7 separate regions of the Homo sapiens genome follow, and regions 2, 3, 4, 5, 6 and 7 are each linked to region 1. Evidence: promoter capture Hi-C in 16 types of primary human blood cells and fetal thymus (Javierre and others, 2016). All regions are on one chromosome and are shown on one strand. The core of a region is centred on a gene start or on the middle of the fragment in contact, and the rest is flanking DNA. Distances in the headings are between cores, read along the strand shown.

What was found. The method cuts DNA at HindIII sites, captures the fragments that hold promoters and counts their contacts. A CHiCAGO score of 5 or more calls a contact.
Region 2: a fragment that was not itself captured here is called in contact with the fragment with the promoter of PRDM1 in region 1 in 2 of 17 cell types (M0 macrophages and M1 macrophages); the score reaches 7.4 in M0 macrophages.
Region 3: a contact is called between a fragment that was not itself captured here and the fragment with the promoter of PRDM1 in region 1, in 2 of 17 cell types (M1 macrophages and monocytes). The highest score is 5.7, in M1 macrophages.
Region 4: a contact is called between a fragment that was not itself captured here and the fragment with the promoter of PRDM1 in region 1, in 6 of 17 cell types (M1 macrophages, activated CD4 T cells, M0 macrophages and 3 more). The highest score is 7.4, in M1 macrophages.
Region 5: a contact is called between a fragment that was not itself captured here and the fragment with the promoter of PRDM1 in region 1, in 14 of 17 cell types (M0 macrophages, total CD8 T cells, total CD4 T cells and 11 more). The highest score is 17.2, in M0 macrophages.
Region 6: a fragment that was not itself captured here is called in contact with the fragment with the promoter of PRDM1 in region 1 in 2 of 17 cell types (total CD4 T cells and naive CD8 T cells); the score reaches 7.1 in total CD4 T cells.
Region 7: a contact is called between a fragment that was not itself captured here and the fragment with the promoter of PRDM1 in region 1, in 1 of 17 cell types (M0 macrophages). The highest score is 5.7, in M0 macrophages.

Annotation. Positions count from the first base shown.
Region 1 is chr6:106,084,957-106,087,656 of GRCh38, forward strand. PRDM1 (PR/SET domain 1) reads left to right here and starts at 1,380. Exons shown (of 7, transcript NM_001198.4): 1 at 1,380-1,639. The coding sequence starts at 1,598. RefSeq lists an enhancer at 1,008-1,727. The HindIII fragment of the contact is 5,820 bases long and covers 1-2,700 here.
Region 2 is chr6:105,545,718-105,548,417 of GRCh38, forward strand. No RefSeq gene overlaps it. Among named protein-coding and RNA genes, the nearest start is that of LINC02836, 85 kb to the right of the region's middle. The HindIII fragment of the contact is 1,315 bases long and covers 700-2,014 here.
Region 3 is chr6:105,562,770-105,565,469 of GRCh38, forward strand. No RefSeq gene overlaps it. Among named protein-coding and RNA genes, the nearest start is that of LINC02836, 68 kb to the right of the region's middle. The HindIII fragment of the contact is 3,596 bases long and covers 1-2,700 here.
Region 4 is chr6:105,510,461-105,513,160 of GRCh38, forward strand. No RefSeq gene overlaps it. Among named protein-coding and RNA genes, the nearest start is that of PREP, 110 kb to the left of the region's middle. The HindIII fragment of the contact is 1,986 bases long and covers 416-2,401 here.
Region 5 is chr6:105,435,097-105,437,811 of GRCh38, forward strand. No RefSeq gene overlaps it. Among named protein-coding and RNA genes, the nearest start is that of PREP, 33 kb to the left of the region's middle. The HindIII fragment of the contact is 7,172 bases long and covers 1-2,715 here.
Region 6 is chr6:105,396,666-105,399,365 of GRCh38, forward strand. It overlaps PREP (prolyl endopeptidase), which reads right to left. Exons shown (of 15, transcript NM_002726.5): 2 at 1,188-1,262. Among named protein-coding and RNA genes, the nearest start is that of PREP, 5.1 kb to the right of the region's middle. RefSeq lists an enhancer at 1,235-1,997. The HindIII fragment of the contact is 1,316 bases long and covers 673-1,988 here.
Region 7 is chr6:105,418,893-105,421,592 of GRCh38, forward strand. No RefSeq gene overlaps it. Among named protein-coding and RNA genes, the nearest start is that of PREP, 17 kb to the left of the region's middle. The HindIII fragment of the contact is 2,945 bases long and covers 1-2,700 here.

The DNA of each region.
Region 1 (2,700 bases), core at 130-2,629:
GACACCATTTCCTGGCAAATAATCTTTTGCCTCTCCCCCTCTCCCCTAAAAAAAATTCTAGAAAAGTTTTCTAAAAGTGAGAAAAGAAATTTTAAAGATAAACAGACATATTTTTTAGGATTGAGTTGGGCTTTTGTTTTGCTTTGTTTCATTTCTTCCTGTAAACAAATACTCAGATGTCCATTTCATTGTATGACTAAGTTGGTATCATTAGGTTGGAACTGGGTGTGTGTATGTGGGTGTGTGTGTGGGTGGATGTGTGTGCACACGTGTATTTAAAATGTTAGAAAAGACATTGCAGGTCGAAGGAGAAATGATTTTAAAAAAACCTACCTATGGTAAGGCAAGCAGGAAAAATGGAAGACCTGGATTTCAATGATCTAAATAATAATTGAAATGGGGTGTTTGCTATAAACATTGTTTCTCTGAATTAAAGGATTCCTTGCTGAAGGCACAAGACCATTGAAGGAAGTAAAGCATCTGGTTTGTTTTGTAATGAGAAGCAGGAATGCAAGGTCCACGCTCTTAATAATAAACAAACAGGACATTGTATGCCATCATCACAGGATGTCCTTCCTTCAACAGAGGACTGACTGGGCTGGAGGAAAAGCTGGCCGGGGCTCAGAATAAGCCCCACTAATTACTGCCTCCGACCGCTTTCCACTTGCAGTGATCAGTTCAATATTCCTCTGAACTGTGAAACGACTAATGCTCTACATTTTACTTACACTCCTGGGAAGTCAGCCTGTGGGTTCTGGGAGGAGAGGAAAGGAAAACAAACAATCTGTAGAATTATAACTTTTGCCTATTTCCCTATTTACTAAATAGTTAAAAGAGGAAAGTTAGTTCTGCCAAGTTTGAACGTTAGCAGGAGAAACGGAATGTTACAACTTTTGGGGCGGGGGGCGGGGAAACGTGCGTTACATACACAACAGCTTGAGGACCAGACAGCTCCACTGTATTACACTAGCTGCAAAAACAATTTAACTTGCTCTTTTGAAGTAAGATTTGTGTCTTTTGTACCTGGGGATTTGAGCTGAGAAATCAGAAACTGTGTAGGTAAATTTTAAGTTTCCTTAATTTAAGGAACGTGCGCCCCCTAATTCTGCCGCGCCAGGAAGGAGGGCGATCTGGAGTGTTTAGAATACAATAGAGCCCAAGTAAGCGTTGAGGTTAAGTGCCTTCAAAGGGAAGTAAGAAGATTCCAAGTCAATGTTGAAATACACATGCGAAGAGAGGAAGCTCTCGGCGGCTGTGCTAGCAATCTGGGGGAAAGCCCTGGGCTCGGCCAGGTGGTGTTGGCCACGTTGGCCACGCCCCCACTTCGCGCAGCCGAGTGGCTAAGGAAATCTTAAGCAGGGAGGGGAAGCCAGACGGTTAACACAGACAAAGTGCTGCCGTGACACTCGGCCCTCCAGTGTTGCGGAGAGGCAAGAGCAGCGACCGCGGCACCTGTCCGCCCGGAGCTGGGACGCGGGCGCCCGGGCGGCCGGACGAAGCGAGGAGGGACCGCCGAGGTGCGCGTCTGTGCGGCTCAGCCTGGCGGGGGACGCGGGGAGAATGTGGACTGGGTAGAGATGAACGAGACTTTTCTCAGATGTTGGATATTTGCTTGGAAAAACGTGTGGGTACGACCTTGGTAAGGAACTTGAATTTTTTTTTTTTAATTCTGAAATTGATCTGAAAACTTTATTTTCTTTTCCTTTATTGTTATTATTATTAATTTTTTTTGGCTAATGTCGCAGTAGAAACATGCTTCTGCTTTAGTGCACTTAGTGCTGTCAAACATTTGTGAGACTTTCCTTATGAATCATTAACCCTTTCAGTTCTAGACATAATTGCCAATTCATTGAAATTTCAGTAGTGGTTCCAGCTCACACTCGTCAAACTATTCCGGGTTGGCTGAAGTTTTCTATTTTATTTTATTTTTAACATGTGTTTGGCGTCATGACTCTACATGTTGGAACTAAATAAAAATAAGCAGGTTTGCTTAAATCATAACTGAGGGAAAAACAACTTTGCATCCAACTTTTTTTTTTTTAAGAGCATCCTATTTAGAGAAGTGGAAGAATGTAAAAACCTCCTTGAAGGACTTCCACAGAATGTTATGTTTACATTTGAACAAACACACATTCTTACATGGAAATGATACCCATATTCCTCATTTTTATCAAACATGTCTATATGAGAAAACCCTTACAGAAGTTGTTTACCTTTTTTTGCCTTTGGAAAACAGTTTTTTTCTGAGTGTGAGGGAGGATTTTGGGGGAATATCCTCATCAATGTACAAGTGGAAGCAGAGCTTGTCCTCCAAGTCTTCTAAATTTGTTATAACTTTAGTTACAGTAAACTGTAGTACATCAGTGACTTCTGGGAATTCATACACTTTCAGATTTAAATGGAAAGTGCTATTTGTAGCTGAGGACTCCTAAAGGAATTCTCTCCAGGGAATTTTATTAAACGGTTTTATGTTTTGTTTTTGCCTTTTCAATTTGGTATGAGATGCTTGCAAGTCAGAAGACACTGCAGGCTGTTTTCCCCTTCACCCATTTTTCCTCCTCTTTTCCTGTGGTCCAAGTGATTTCTAAGAGGCCGTAGCTCAGTGATGCTGGCAGGATGCAACCCTTTTCAGTCTTCCATGTGAGAGGATGAAAGAGAGCTCGCAGCAGAGGGAGGAGGCAGTTGTTTTGAAAGTTGTTT
Region 2 (2,700 bases), core at 107-2,606, 540 kb before region 1:
AGCTGATCTCAGTGAAGAAACCATAGCTCAGCTTCTTACTCATCAAGCTAAGACAAAGGAGAACAGTGCATGACCGAAAAATACGTTCTTTATCCAGGCTTTTGGATTATGATCATGGCTTGGGAAACAATTTATTTGATATTAGTCTGCTTACCAATTTTGCTTCATTTTCAAAACATTTCCTAGTTCCTGGAAACACCTGAAGCTCAGAAGAGACATGATAAATTACTTTTCTCTAGAAGACATCTGAATTGCTTTACAGTATTTGTTTTCTCAAAAACATTGATGTTTGCTTTGGACTAACTTTATCAAGATAAAATAGCAATCTTATTTTTTTTTTTTATTACAGTACTCTCCTAACTGAATGGTAAACACCAGCTTTTAATATGGAAGCCACCATGGCAATATATGAGTGATATTTCTCATGTGATTGGTTCTGGAGTTCGATGTCCTTAAAGGCTGGCCTGGGAAAGTGGTTCCCCAATTGTTTACTCTCCTATGCTATTTATACACAGCTATTGAAAGTTAGAGCCTTTCTCTGGGACTTGGCCTCTTTAATTGGAGTGTGAAACACAATTCCCATTAAGATGCCACTTGAAGCAAGGAAACCGTATTCATATCCTGTGAGCAAATGTGGATTTTTCCACTCATGCCCATTTAAATGTCTCAGTTCCTGAACGCAAGAATGGGGGTGTCCGAAGCTTAGCGTTTCCAGGATTTGGGATGAGGGAATCCTGTGAGCGCTGTCTCATGACTTGAGGAAACTTATCTATTCTGAGAAACTCACAGTTATTTATCCCTATAATAATTACTCATTTCTAACATAAGACAGAGTCATCAGGGATGCGCGTCTTGCTGCAGTGATTCATTTCTTTCTTTCATGAGGATTAAGTGCCCTACTGGACAAAGTACAACGTAAGTTGCATCATTTTACACTGCAAATGAGAGCAATATGCGATATTAAGGAATGGATAGTTTCCAAAGTCGAATTCTGCTTTCTGTCAACAGCAGGATTAGCTTTAAGAGTATTCTTTTTTTTCTTAAGTACCTCCAATTCTAATGTCATGTGCAAGGGGCTCTCAGAAAGGCCACCAGTACAGAAAATATGGGGTAAAACCTCCTGTTTCTAATCTTATAGAGGACCCTTAAGTGGTGGTCCTTTTGAGGCTGGCCTTTGTATGAATTGTGGGAACACAGCTCGAGGACAGGGACTGTCTCTGAGTGAAGCTCAGACCATCTGCATGCTGGTACACAGACACGACACAGACACAGTAAACACAGTCAACTGGCAGAGCTACAGGCAGCTATAGGAAAATGGGAATACTTTTACATGACAAAGTTACAAGTGTGTGGCTGTGAAATTAGGGACCAAGATGACTGGAAGGTAGGTGATAGATGTAAATAAATAATACAGGGAGCAACCAAGACAATAGGTAGATGTAAATGTAAATACAAAGGTATAGAATGAGGAGAAGGCAAATGCTTTCAGTGCATACAGTTCATCCTCCTACAGCTCAAAGCACTTTGGATGCCCTTCTAGTTATGAACAAGAAACCTCTGGGAGTTAAATGGACAGCATTATTATATTCCTTTCAAAACCAATGATAACTTGGTTTAGGAAGAGGAAATCCTTTGGGGTAGTAGTGGTTGAATGGAGGTTGAGAGATAATTTTTTTTTGTCCTGGCCATATAATTAGACAAGTCACCAGACCTCTCTGGGCCTGTTTTCCCATCTGTAAAATGGGCTAATAAATTCTAAAGTTCCTCTTATTGCTGAGGTAATCAACATGAAAGTATGATTTTTAAAGAACATTTTGGACCTTTGTTCATATAACAATGAATGTTCTCTCATTCTTCTGATTCACTTTAACTTTCATATATTTCCTTCAGAAGATAACTATAGAAGATTTGTTTGTTTTTAAGAAAGCAGACCTTCATTTAAAAGATAAGAACTCAAAATAAACAGAAGTACTTGGATTTGAGGTTACGAATTTGAATTATTGCTGTTATCTGAAGCTTTGGTTATTTATTTCTTAAATTTTGTACCTATTCTTAATTCCTTTGCATTACCATATTTTTTTTTCTGCTCACTGAAGATAATTTGTTATCTCTTCTTGTATTACTAAAGAAGGAGAGGAAGGAAGGCAGAAAAGAAACAAAGGGAAGGAGGTAGAAAAAAGGGAGGAAGGAATATTAAAAAATGTAGGGTGTCTGTTGTTACAATTTTATGTGCTAACATCACTCTATCACTCTTAAGCTAGAGGAATAGATGACGGGGTTTCTCTTCGGAGGTGTGTGTGTGTGTGTGTGTCAGGGAGTATTATTTTTACTCCAAAACATAAACACACAGACCTACACGTTTACTAACCACTCTCTCCTTTTGGAAGACAGATCTTCAAAAAAGTCTGCACTTCTGATTTCTACCCCCTCACCTCTAATTGTTTTATTTTAATTTTTTTGAGACGGAGTCTCACTCTGTCGCCTAGGCTGGAGTGCAGTGGTGCGATCTCGGCTCACTGCAACCTCCACCTCCTGGGTTCAAGCGATTCTTCTGCCTCAGCCTCCTGAGTAGTTGGGATTATAGGGGCGCGCCACCAGGCCCAGCTAATTTTTGTATTTTCAGTAGAGACGGGGTTTCACCACATTGACCAAGGCTGGTCTCGAACTCCTGACCTTGTGATCCACCTGCCTCGGCCCCCC
Region 3 (2,700 bases), core at 193-2,692, 520 kb before region 1:
AAATTGGAATGATGTGGCCACAAGCCAAGGAATGCCTGGGGACACCAGAAGTTGGAAAAGATAAGGAACAGAATCTCTTCTAGAGCCTCTGAAGGGAACATGGCCCTGTAGAACTCTTAATTTCAGACTTCTTGCCTCTAGAACGGTAACAGAATAAATTTCTGTTGTGTTAAGCTATCTAGTTTGTGGAAATTTGTTACAGCAGCCCTGGGAAGCTAATACACTGATTCTTTCTCATTCTTTACTCAAATAAGACATATAGACTGTGCTCTGGAAGGCTTTACCCATGACACCAACCCATTGAGATCTCTTTCTTCTCTAGATGAGGCTGCTCTTCATAATCCCTTACCCTGAAGTTGGTATTCTTAAATAATTTCACACATTAATTCTGCCCCTTTCTCTTGGCTCTGCACACAAAATTCCTTGGGAATGAAGAGCATACCTCAATGCCCTTTAAACACCCTGGACTGTCATAAACAATGCTAGTTTCATAGAAAATGCTCAGTGGATTCCTGTTGATTGGCCACAGACTTGAAATACTGATGAGATGTTTTTAAATCTGAATTTCATTTTCTTCCATTCAACATCTAGAGAATTTACACTAGGAAACTAACCTCCCATTCCTACTTGAAATGGATAGAGAAACCCTTAGTGTTGAATCTCAGGCAGATAGAGTTTACTTTAACAAAGGAATTGTTATTGGAGGCCTAAAGGTAATTTAAATGGAAAAACTGCTATTGAAGGGGGCCAGTCCCAGGTGGCATGTGCAACAGAGGCCCTTCTGCTCTGTCAGATCTTGCCCTTATTACACATGATGGGATTTAAGGCTGATGATGGATTAGGACATTTTAGGCTAAGGGCCATTCTACATCCTCTGAACAGCAACTTGAAATAGGGCAGTCTATATAGCAGATTCGGTATAGAGTCTTAATTAAAGGATATATAGACCTTAATTTAGCTCCATTTTAATTGTGCAGAATTCTTTTAAACTTTAGAGGATGGTCTAAATTTAGTTCAGCTTTTTTTTTTTTTTTTTTTTTTTTTTTTTTTTTTTTTGAGATGGAGTCTCGCTCTGTCACCCAGGCTGGAGTGCAGTGGCACAATTATGGTTCACTGCAACCTCCGCCTCTCAGGTTCAAGCAGTTCTCCTGCTTCAGCCTCCAGAGTAGCTGGGCTTACAGGTACCCACCACCATGCCCGGCTAGTTTTTCTATTTTTAGTAAAGATGGGGTTTCGCCATGTTTGCCAGGCTGGTCTCAAACTCCTGACCTCAAATGATCCAACTGCTTCAGCCTCCCAAAGTGCTGAGATTACAGGCGTGAGCCACTGCACCCGACCTACTTTAGCAAATATTATCTTCTTTAAGAGAGGCCCTTTACTAGTCTGCTGTAGAGTTCATAAAAGTGAATAAGACACAGGTCCTGTCCTGAAGGGGCACACTCTCTAATAGGGTCAATAATTTATATAAGTAACTTCAGTTTTGTCATCAAATCTATTGACACACACACACACACACACGCACCAAAGATGAGTCAAGGACGAGAGTTATTCATTCTGAGAGGAAGGATTGGGGAAAGATTCATTATAGATTGTGATATTTGGGTCACATCCAAAGAATGGAAATTTTATCATTAGTCAAACAATTTTAGAGGAAGGATGTTTTAGGAAGAAGCCTATCAGAAGCCAGGAGAATGTAAGCACTTGTTCTGTGAAGGCCCTGCAAGTATATTGATGGTGATTCTGGAGGCTGGCGTGTGTGGAAAGATGTGGCAGGAAAACAGGTTTTAAAAAGCATTTGAACTCAATCATTCAGAGCCTTAAAACTCAGGCTAAGAAGATCATACTGTATCCCATAAGGCCTGAGACGCTATGCAGATTTTTGAGCAAAAGAAACAGGGAACGTGACATTTGTGTCATGTTAATGAGGTGTGGACCAAAGAGACAAAGGCTTAGTTGCAGAAGGGGCTATTGCTATGGTCTAAGGAAGAGTGGTGAGAGCAAGAGTTTGGGAAGTAGCTTGGGAAATATAAAGGAAGAGACAGCGTTGTTTGAGAGATAATTAGAAAGTATAATCAACAAAATTTAGTGACTAATGAGGCATGAGTGTAGAGAGAGGAATTAAAGACAACTCCAATAAAAGTGGCCTGAGAGCAGGGAGGTTTAAGTGGGGTATATGGGAAGCATAGGAGGTGCAGTTCTGAAAAGAAACTGGCCAGGAGAGTATAGGGTTTCGACACGGTGATTTTGAATTGCCAGCAGAAACTTTAAATTGGAATTCAGGCGATATAAAATTTAGAGTCACCAGTATGGAGACTAGGCTTAAAGCCATAAGAGAAGATGAGAGCCCAGGAAGAAAGCACAGAGGAAAGGAAGAAAGCAAAGAGGGGAAGCTCTGTGGTAGAAATTTTTTTTTTTTTTTTTTTTGAGATGAGTCTCGCACTGTTGCCCGGGCTGGAGTGCAATGGCGCGATCTCGGCTCATTGCAACCTCTACCTCCCGGCTTCAAGTGATTCTCCCGCCTCAGCCTCCCAAAAGGTGGGATTATAGGTGCCTGCCGCCACGCCCAGCTAATTTTTTGTATTTTTAGTAGAGATGGGGTTTCACCATGTTGGCCAGGCTGGTCTCGAACTCTTGACCTCGTGATCCGCCCGCCTCGGCCTCCCACAGTGCTGGGATTACAAGCGTAAGCCACCGCGCCTG
Region 4 (2,700 bases), core at 159-2,658, 570 kb before region 1:
TGCTAAAAGATAGGAATAGGATGTGTGTAAAATATTCCCTCAGTACATTGCTGCTAATCTGTCAGGAGGAGTGGGGCTGGCTAATGAGGTAATGAAAGAAGAATAATGCAAATTATAGTTCATATTTACTATGAAATGATTCTGTTTCAGGCTCTATGCTCAAGGTTCTATTCAGTCACCAAACCTGTGCTTCTGAAAGAGGACAGCGTAGATTAATAAGGAAATCAGTTATTGGTAGCTGCCTTTTGTTATCAACACTGACAAATTTGCTGTCTTTACTATGCCTTCCAAGTGACTAATATCAGTAGATTTGGTTAATAGAAAGAGTGAAGTCTAAATACTGAAAAAGAATAAACAAAATGCAGATAAATATTTTGAAATGATTCAGATTGGGAAAGTCCTAATACCACTGCTAAGCTTTCAACATTTTCCTTGCCACAGAATGATTCCTCTGAGAACAAAGTAATTGTTGACTTCAAAGAACTCTGAGGAAGTTCAGTGGATGGAAAGAATTTGGCTAGCAACAGGATGAATCAAATCTAGATTTTTTCCTATCACTAGTATATGTGTGTGTCTGTGTGTGTGTGTGTGTAGAGCACATGAATATTTCCATACAATTTAACTCACTACCTAAAGTGTTTCTCAATATTAAAAATGCACTGAAGAATGGAAATGCCCTTCCTATTTGGTAACTACTCCAAAGATGCCTTGGAGTTGTTCCATACCTGGGCTACACCTACACTCTATTAATTATGGAGAGTACTGTTCCCCAAATCTAGCTGGGCCCCAGAATCATATCAGGACCTTTAAAAGTATTTATTCTTTTATCATAGTCCTACTGAATTGGCTTCTTCAGAGGTGGAGGTGGAAATATATATATTTGTGCAAGTGATGCTGAAAACAGTCTGGGTGTACACTTACATTTAATTCAGGTTGGCAGTGAATCTTGTGAGCCACTCATCTAAACAGCTCAATTGACAGGTTAAGTGACTGCTACCTGTTCCAACTGAAGTTATTCCCTCAATAACAGCAGATCTGTGTAGACCCCATCAAGGACTTTAACAGTAATTGATTGACCCTCCATACTCACTTGATTGACCCTCCATACTCACCACCTGAGACCCTGCTTTTCATTCTTGCATTTCAAAGAACATGTTCCACTGTGAAATACCAAGATATCTTGGCCAACCTGGCCTTGAAATTGCCTGGCTGTTGGAAATGATGCCCCCACAATGGATTTGGAGAATACACCTTAATATATGCCCTCAGCAAGATAGGTTTCAAATAAGCGACTCAAACCTGGAAGCCTCCCACATGGTACATGAGACATTACAAATAAGCTCTTGGTTCTGTTGATTCTTCCTCTTTTAGTTTTCTATGTTTATACAGTTTTCTTGGTTTTAGAAACCTCCTCACTATAAACTCTGCTTATCAGCCTATTCTAGCTCTCCACCACACAGAATTGCATGCATGAGACAAGAGCAACCTGCCTGCTGAAAGCCTGAGACCACAGTCGCTTAGATTTTTAGGGGGCACTAAGTGTCACTGGAGGACAACCCACTTCAATTATGGTTTTTCTTACTTTCTTTCTTTCTTTTTTTTTTTGAGACAGAGTCTCACTCTGTTGCCCCAGCTGGAGTACAGTGGTGATCTTGGCTGACTGCAACCTCTGGCCTCCCGGGTTCAAGTGATTCTCCTGCCTCAGCCTCCCAAGTAGCTGGGATTACAGGTGCCTGCCCCCACGCCCACCTAATTTTGTATTTTAGTAGAGACAGGGTTTTGCCATGTTGGTCAGGCTAGTCTTGAACTCCTGACCTCAGGTGATCCACTTGTCTTGGCCTCCCAAAGTACTGGGATTGCAGGCATGAGCCACCACACCCGGCCAGTTTTTCTTTTCTTTAAAAGTATTTCATCAGCATCTCATATGGTGTGTTTGTGAGTTTGGCAGAGCACAGCAAGGCATTTCAAGATCTCAGCATTCGTTTCTTGCTTGGAGAGACAGGAAAAGGTGCACTTGTTCTCATCCCTGGGGAAATGGTCCCTCATGAGTCAAAAATGCTTTGTTTCTGGTCAAGGCAGCTTCAGAGATACCGACACTGCCTTTCTCTTCCTAGTCCAATCACCCCCTTCCTTTTGGGTCTCAGCAGGTATAGAAGTTGAGAAGACTGAATTCACTGTTGAATTCATTCACCTATCAATTCACCTCAACAATGATTTCTCATTGTCATGTGCCAAGCACTTTGAGGAATACAAGGTAATCCATGGAGAGAATAAATTATATATAATTTCCAATGCAAAGTAGAAAGGGGTTTGTAGCATGAAAGAGGAAAACAAAAATTGCTATGTGAGCTTTGTGGTCAGAGCTCATATATTATATAGTGGAAGAGAAGGTTAAGGGGAAAGCTTCCCTTTCTTTCTTTCCCTATATCCAGTCCCCCAACTCTAAAGTATTGGGTGTAACATAACTTTTGGAATGCCTATAAGGTCTTACGTTTCAGGAATCTCTGTGACAATGCCAGCATTTGTGGGGTTCAGGAAGACTGAGGCCAGCTTTGCAGTAGAATGTTGCAGAATCACCTGGGAAGTTTGGGGAGCAAAAATATTCTTGCTTGGACCACAGAGATCGGGATTCACAGCCCTAGGGTGGGTCCCTCATGTCATCTCCAGGTACATGTGCAAAATTCTCCCAGGAGTTAGGCT
Region 5 (2,715 bases), core at 173-2,672, 650 kb before region 1:
AGCTATGCTGATATCTAGAATTACTTTAAATTAAGTCATTGGAAAATATTGGGCAATTATACCAAATTTCTGGCAGACTGTGATTGGAGTGATAGATATCTTAGAAATAGATTCCTGTGTTCAGTTGGTATTTTGTGGTAGGGGTCTTCGTACTTTGGGGATGTGGAGTTAGGGGAATTGGGTTTGCCTTTTTGCTCTGCCTATCAGCTTCTTACTAACTCATTCATAAAATAAAGATGAGTCTATTTCAAAGATCTGTTCCACTCTTCAGATATAGCTTTTTATGGTTTTATCAAAATTTATTTTAAGAGTATATCATAAAAGAGTATTTTTAGAGTAATCCACAAAGACTGGTGCATATTTATTAAACAATCAGAACTTGCATGCTTGAAAAAAATCTTAAAACTTTTTTGTTTTAATTCTTAATTTAGAGATGGGTTCTCAATATATTGCCCAGGCTGGCCTCAAACTCCTTGGTTCAAGAGATCCTCCCACCTCAGCCTCCTAAATAGTTGGGACTACAGATGTGTACCACTGCCTCCTACTAAAGAAATCTTTAATTCCTGCCACTGGAAGATTAAATTGTTCAGGTCTTATTCCTACTTCATTTACTTTAACAAAATCAAACATTTTTTATTTCAGAATAGTTTTGGACTCACAGAAAAGTTGCAAGGAGAGTAAGAGAACTCCCATATACTTTGTAGCCATTTTTTCCTATTATTAACATCTTATATTTACTGTGGTATATTTGTTATAACAATGAACCAATAATAATACATTGACATTAACTGAAGTCCATACTTTATTCAGATTTCCTTTAGTTTTTACCTAATGTCTTTTTCTGTTCTAGGAAGGATCCCATCCAGGATACTATATTACATTTAGCTGTCATGTCTCTTTAGGGTCCTCTTGGCTGTGACAGTTTTTCAGACTTTTCTTGTTTTTGATAACTTTGACAGTTCCGTGGTGTGCTGGTCAGCTATTTTGTAGAAAGTCCTTCCATTGGGATTTGCCCATTTTTCTTATGATTAGGCTGCAGTAATGGGTTTGGGGGAGAAAGACCACAGAGGTGAGATGGCCCACTCATCACCTCATCTCAAGGGTACACGCCATCGGCCAGACTTATCACTGTTGCTGTTAACCTTGAGCATCTGGTCAGGATAGTGTTTGTCAGGTGTCTCTGCTGTAAAGTTACTTTTATCCCCCCTCTCCTTTCAGTAGTCTTTGGAAGAAAATCACTTTACACAACCCACTGTTAAGACATGGGAAGATTTAACTCATTTTTAAGTCACCATCCATTGAATTTTAGAGTAAAATCTCGTTAATGTTAGGCACAGCTTTGAGACTATTAGGTAAGTTTGGTGGCAAACTGTCCTGTAAGTTCTTACTAACCTGGAATAAAATTTCTGGGGGAAAAAAGAAAAGGGCTATGACTTGTCCTTCTTCTTTGATATTTTTTTATCCCTTCTTTTGCAGGGAGTTATAAGGTACACTTACACTTAAGTACAAAACAACATGATTCTCTCCCCATCCCCCACAGTCTAGCAAAAACAATCTATCGCCTTAAAATAGGAAGAAAATATGCTTCTTTTTCATTGCTTTAGCAAAGGATTGCGGGAGATCTGGATCAATAGCATTTTTCCAAGTTGTAGTTATGTGAATCCTAATATTTACATTAAACAGTTTTTGTGCTTCAGCATCTTTGAAACTTTCTTTGGTCCCCACCCTTTTAGGAACAACAAATTCCTAAAGCGTGAATGTTTACGACAAAACAAAATATTCTCAGCCTTTCATTCTATTTTTTTTAAAATTACAGAAGTAATATATGTTTTTTTAAAGTAAAAAAAGTTAAAACAATCCAGAAGTACATAAAGTGTAAAAGTAGAAGTCTTCCCTGGCTCTGCATGTGGTAGAATTGACTCCATTATTAAATGTTGTTTTTTTGGCTTTCTATCACAGATGATAGTGTTATTTTATTAAATATGCTCCACTATAACGTAGTATGTAGCAATTAAATGGGGGAAAAGACATGTTTGAAATTTGGCTTGGACTGTTAACTTGTTACTTATTTAATCAACTATCTAGCAAATGATGTTCTAGATGCTGGAGAAATGTAGGGGTATACATGATGCAAAAGCAAATTATCTGTCCTCAGAGGAACCCATGGTACAGATACAGAGGGACAGACCTCCATAAACGACAAAGAAGTTAACAAATGTCTTCCATCCAAGCACATCTGTCACATGTAGAACTTGAAAACTAATTTTTGCTTGGCTAATATGATTATGACCTACTCAGAGTATATTTTTAGTTTATTTAGTTTGTTAAATTTGGAACAAAAAGCTCTGAGCTAATTTTCAGAATGAGTGTGAACTGGTTCGTTTAACTATGTAACACAATTTCACCATTTTTCTGAGACTGCACATGGTAGTTCTGTTTTTTTAAGATGATGAAAAAAGATTTTATCCTCTGATCATGCCAAGAAGGGAAGACTCAGAATCTATCATCCTAATCTTTTCAAGCATATCAAGTACAGCTTTGATGATGAAAGAATTTTTATGGAATAAGTTTGGTGCCTAAACAAATCTCCTACTATTTTCCTACCTGTAATGATATAAGAAAATGTATATCTGCCAACAATCACTCATTCACTAAACAGGAACTAATTTTAATGTAAATTATTTATGATTAAATCAGCTTTGAAGTATTATATCA
Region 6 (2,700 bases), core at 81-2,580, 690 kb before region 1:
AAACTACCTAGAGTGCCATTTAACCTTTTTTTTTTTTAAATGGGAAACGTACCCTGCAACTCTAAAGAAGCTCGAATAAATTTTGGGATGCTGAACATATCAGAAACTGCAAATATGTACTAAGTATTATGTACTATGGTTATAAATAGAAGAATCCAAGAACTTAAGATGAACTTGAGAAACACTATTCCCCCAACCAAGCAAACTTAATTAACTACATAAAGTACACATAAATGGGCTGGGCGCGATGGTGCACACTTGTAATCCCAACACTTTGGGAGGCCGAGGCGGGAGGATCACTTGAGGCCAGGAGTTCGAGACCAGCCTGGCCAACATGGTGAAACCCCCGTCTCTACTAAAAATACAAAAACTAGCCGGGTGTGGTGGCACATGCCTGTAATCCCAGCTACTCGGGAGGCTGAGGTACAAGAATTGCTTGAACCCAGGAGGCGGAGGTTGCAGTGAGCCAAGATCGCACCAGTGCCCTACAGCCTGGGTGACAGAGTAAGACTCTGTCTACAAAAAAAAAAAAAAAAAGTATACATAAGTGACAAGTCCTAGGCACTCCAAAAAGGGAAAAATGTCTGTGGGACATAGGACTTAGGGCCACCTTCATTACTGAATGGACTTCAGCAGGATCCTTGAAATACTGTTTCTCCAAAAGAATATGAAAGCTTTATGTTTTTAGGGCAGAAAATGCTCCCCCCTGCCCCTTCACTACTTAGCTTTTGTTTCACTGTTGTTGTGTTGACATCAATAAGCAATTTAAGGACAGTGTTCAGTTTTCATGACCTAATATTCATTTCATATACAAGATTTCCTTTTCTTTGGAAAAAAATATTTAGGCAATTTTTTCCTTTAACATCATTTCTATCTAGGTTTTCATTTTTTCTTTTGGCAAAAATCAGTTTTCTTTCTGATATTTTCATTTAAAATAGCTCATCAGTGTCACTATGAACCATAAACATTATCTGAAACACTTAGGTGATCTTCTCTGGGACTAAGCCATGCTTTTGTCTTTTTCCCATAAATTATTTGACAAAAAGTAGTGGTAACAACAGGTATACTCACCATCCCATGGCAGAAAACACAGGAGAACACCAGAAAGGAAAAGCTATAGTTACTGACATTTAGAGTTTGGTGCTAGCTACTAAGGCTGCCTTATCTTTAATTAGAAACCAAATTACCTTAGTCTGTTCACTGTCGGGGTCTTCAAGCCAGGCGTAAGGGTCACAAATTTTATGACCATGATAATCCTGTACCTGTAAAAAACAAAATGAGGTATTAGATAATTACTCTCTAACCCCAATTAAAACTGGTATTTTTTTAATGTAATGGAGAAATAGGAAAGGGATGGACAAAAATGCTAATTGGCTCACTGGCAACGTGTCTGCCCAAATTACCACATGAACCAAAGTTGGCAGGTTCTCAAAGGTGTCAAGCCACCCTTCATGAAAAGAATGTTTCAGCTAGAGAGGAAAGAAAGATGAAAGGTCAGAACAGGAAACCGCTCTGTCCCTACAACACAAAACAAAGACCTGCCACTGTGCTAAAGAAACTTGAAAACGTGCTGTCAGCAGCCAAGCACAGAATGACACAATACAGTGGACAATACAGTGGGCACACAAGAAGGGCACGTCAGGGAGGGGGCTAACACACACGTGCTCATTCTCCTGTTCCGCTGAGCTTCCCAATGATTAGAAAATCTCCCTGCAATATAGCCCAGGTTTGCTTTTATGTCTAAACTGCCAAAAAGCAAGTTACTAATATGTAGTATAATGATTCTAATTGACATAAGTTCAAAAAGCTGACTTAAATGCAATGGCAAAACATTTTAAAACTAATGCCTTTCTTCCTTTTTATTTACTGTTATGAAATGCTTTTTTCCACTGTTTACAAAAAGAAGGTGCAAAAGCATCACCCATTCAGGTTACCATGATATTGGAAGAAATAAAACTGCTTAGTGTAAGTAGAACCTGGCTGAAGGAAGCTTTCTGGAGCTTCTAAGGCCTGGCCTTAGAAGCCACTTGAAGGCGTTTGAAGGAGCAAGTAGAAACAGTTTTCACCACTCCTCAAGTGATTATGCCAAAAGAAATTATCCAGCAGTAAAAATCATTACAAAATCTCTCCACCTGATACCATCAAGATTAACCCCATTAGGACAGAGTGCAGTGGCTCACAGCCATAATCCCAGCACTTTGGGAGACTGAGGCAGGCGGATCACTTGAGGTCAGGAGTTCAAGACCAGCCTGGCCAACATGCTGAAATCCTGTCTCTACTCAAAATTTAAAAATTAGCCGGGCATGGTGGCAGGTGCTGTAATCCCAGCTACTCGGGAGGCTAAGGCAGGGGAGTCTCCTGAACCCAGGAGGCAGAGGTTGCAGTGAGCTGAGACAACGCCTATTGCACTCCAGCCCGGGCAACAGAGCAAGACTTCATCTCAGAAAAAAAAAAAGATTAACCCCATTAATGAAACCACACTGACAATGTCTTGCCAATCAAGTCTCTGAACCACTCCAACATTCTAGTTAAGGCTTCTTGTATAAAGCTGTTGGGAAGACTACCTCTATCTCAGATGAATTTTTTAATCTGTCTCCTTGCTTTGTTCTACAATGCCAGAAGGTAAGGGCTATTTCCTAAAGAAAACCTAGTGCTGCTCTAGTTCCAGTGTGGCTCTGGCTGGGTGAGAACAATCTCCTT
Region 7 (2,700 bases), core at 129-2,628, 670 kb before region 1:
AACCAATGACAAAAACCACATGATTATCTCAATAGATGGAGAAAAGGCCTTTGAAAAAATTCAACAGCCCTTCATGCTAAAAACTCTCAATAAACTAGGTATTGATGGAACGTATCTGAAAATAATATCAAACCCACAGCCAATATCATACTGAATGGGCAAAAACGGGAAGCATTCCCTTTGAAAACCAGCACAAGACAAGGATGCCCTCTCTCACCACTCTTATTCAACATAGTGTTGGAAGTTCTGGCCAGGACAATCAGGCAAGAGAAAGAAATAAAGGGTATTCAATTAGGAAAAGAGAAAGTCAAACCGTCCCTGTTTGCAGATGACATAATTGTATATTTAGAAAACCACATCATCTCGGCCCCAAATTTCCTTAAGCTGATAAGCAATTTCAGCAAAGTCTCAGGATACAAAATCAAAGTGCAAAAATCACAAGCATTCTTATACACCAGTAAAAGACAAACAGAGAGCCAAATCATGAGTGAACTCCCATTCTCAATTGCTACAAAGGAATAAAATACCTAGGAATCCAACTTACAAGGGATGTGAAGGACCTCTTCAAGGAGAACTACAAACCACTGCTCAAGGAAATAAAAGAGGACACAAACAAATGGAAGAACATTCCATGCTCATGGATAGGAAGAATCAATATCGTGAAAATGGCCATACTGCCCAAGGTAATTTACAGATTCAATGCCATCCCCATCAAGCTACCAATGACTTTCTTCACAGAGTTGGAAAAAACCACTTTAAAGTTCATATAGAACCAAAAAAGAGCCCGCATTGCCAAGACAATCCTAAACAAAAAGAACAAAGCTGGAGGCATCATGCTACCTGGCTTCAAACTATACTACAAGGCTACAGTAACCAAAACAGCATGGTACTGGTGCTAAAACAGAGATATAGACCAATGGAACAGAACAGAGGCCTCAGAAACAACACCACACATCTACAACCATCTGATCTTTGACAAACCTGACAAGAAATGGGGAAAGGATTCACTATTTAATAAATGGTGCTGGGAAAACTGGCTAGCCATATGTAGAAAGCTGAAACTGGATCCCTTCTTTACACCTTACACAAAAATTAATTCAAGATGGATTAAAGACTTAAATATTAGACCTAAAGCCATAAAAACCCTAGAAGAAAACCTAGGCAATACCATTCAGGACATAGGCATGGGCAAGGACTTCATGTCTAAAACACCAAAAGCAATGGCCACAGAAGCCAAAATTGACAAATGTGATCTAATTAAACTAAAGAGCTTCTGCACAGCAAAAGAGACTACCATCACAGTGAACAGGCAACCTACAGAATGGGAGAAAATTTTTGCAATCTACTCATCTGACAAAGGGTTAATATCCAGAATCTGCAAAGAACTCAAACAAATTTACAAGAAAAACACAAACAACCCCATCAAAAAGTGGGTGAAGGATATGAACAGACACTTCTCAAAAGAAGACATTTATGCAGCCAACAGACACATGAAAAAATGTTCATCATCACTGGCCATCAGAGAAATGCAAATCAAAACCACAATGAGATACCATCTCATACCAGTTAGAATGGCTATCATTAAAAAGTCAGGAAACAGCTGGTGCTGGAGAGGATGTGGAGAAATAGGAACACTTTTACACTGTTGGTGGGACTGTAAACTAGTTCAACCATTGTGGAAGACAGTGTGGCAATTCCTCAAGGATCTGGAACTAGAAATACCATTTGACCCAGCGATCCCATTACTGGGTATATATCCAAAGGATTATAAATCATGCTGCTATAAAGACACATGCACACGTATGTTTATTGTGGCACTATTCACAATAGCAAAGACTTGGAACCAACCCAAATGTCCATCAATGATAGACTGGATTAAGAAAATGTGGCACATATACACCATGGAATACTATGCAGCCATAAAAAAGGATGAGTTCATGTCCTTTGTAGGGACATGGATGAAGCTGGAAAGCATCATTCTCAGCAAACTATAGCAAGGACAAAAAACCAAACACCGCATATTCTCACTCACAGGTGGGAATTGAACAATGAGAACACTTGGACAAAGGAAGGGGAACATCACACACCGGGGCTTGTCGTGGGGTTGGGGGTGGGGAGAGGGATAGCATTAGGAGATATACCTAATGTAAATAACGAGTTAATGGGTGCAGCACATCAACATGGCACATGTATACATATGTAACAAATCTGCACGTTGTGCACATGTACCCTAGAACTTAAAGTATAATTAAAAAAATAAAAGAAAAAGTACTTAATTTCACTAGGAATCAGGGAAATGCACATTTAAACCACAGTGTGGTATCATTACAGATCCACTAGATTAGAAACAATAATTCTGGGCCGGGCGTGGTGGCTACAGCTGTAATCCCAGCACTTTGGGAGGCTGAGGTGGGCAGATCAGGAGGTCAGAAGATCGAGACAATCCTGGCTAACACGGTGAACCCCGTCTCTACTAAAAATACAAAAAAGTAGCCAGGCATGGTGGCAGGCACCTGTAGTCCCAGCTACTCGGGAGGCTGAGGCAGGAGAATGGCGTGAACCCGGGAGGTGGAGTTTGCAGTGAGCGGAGATTGCACCACTGCAGTCCAGCCTCGGCAACAGAGCGAGACTCCGTCTCAAAAAAAAAAAAAAAAAAAAAAAAAAAAGATACAATAATTCCGAAAATACCAAGTATAGGGG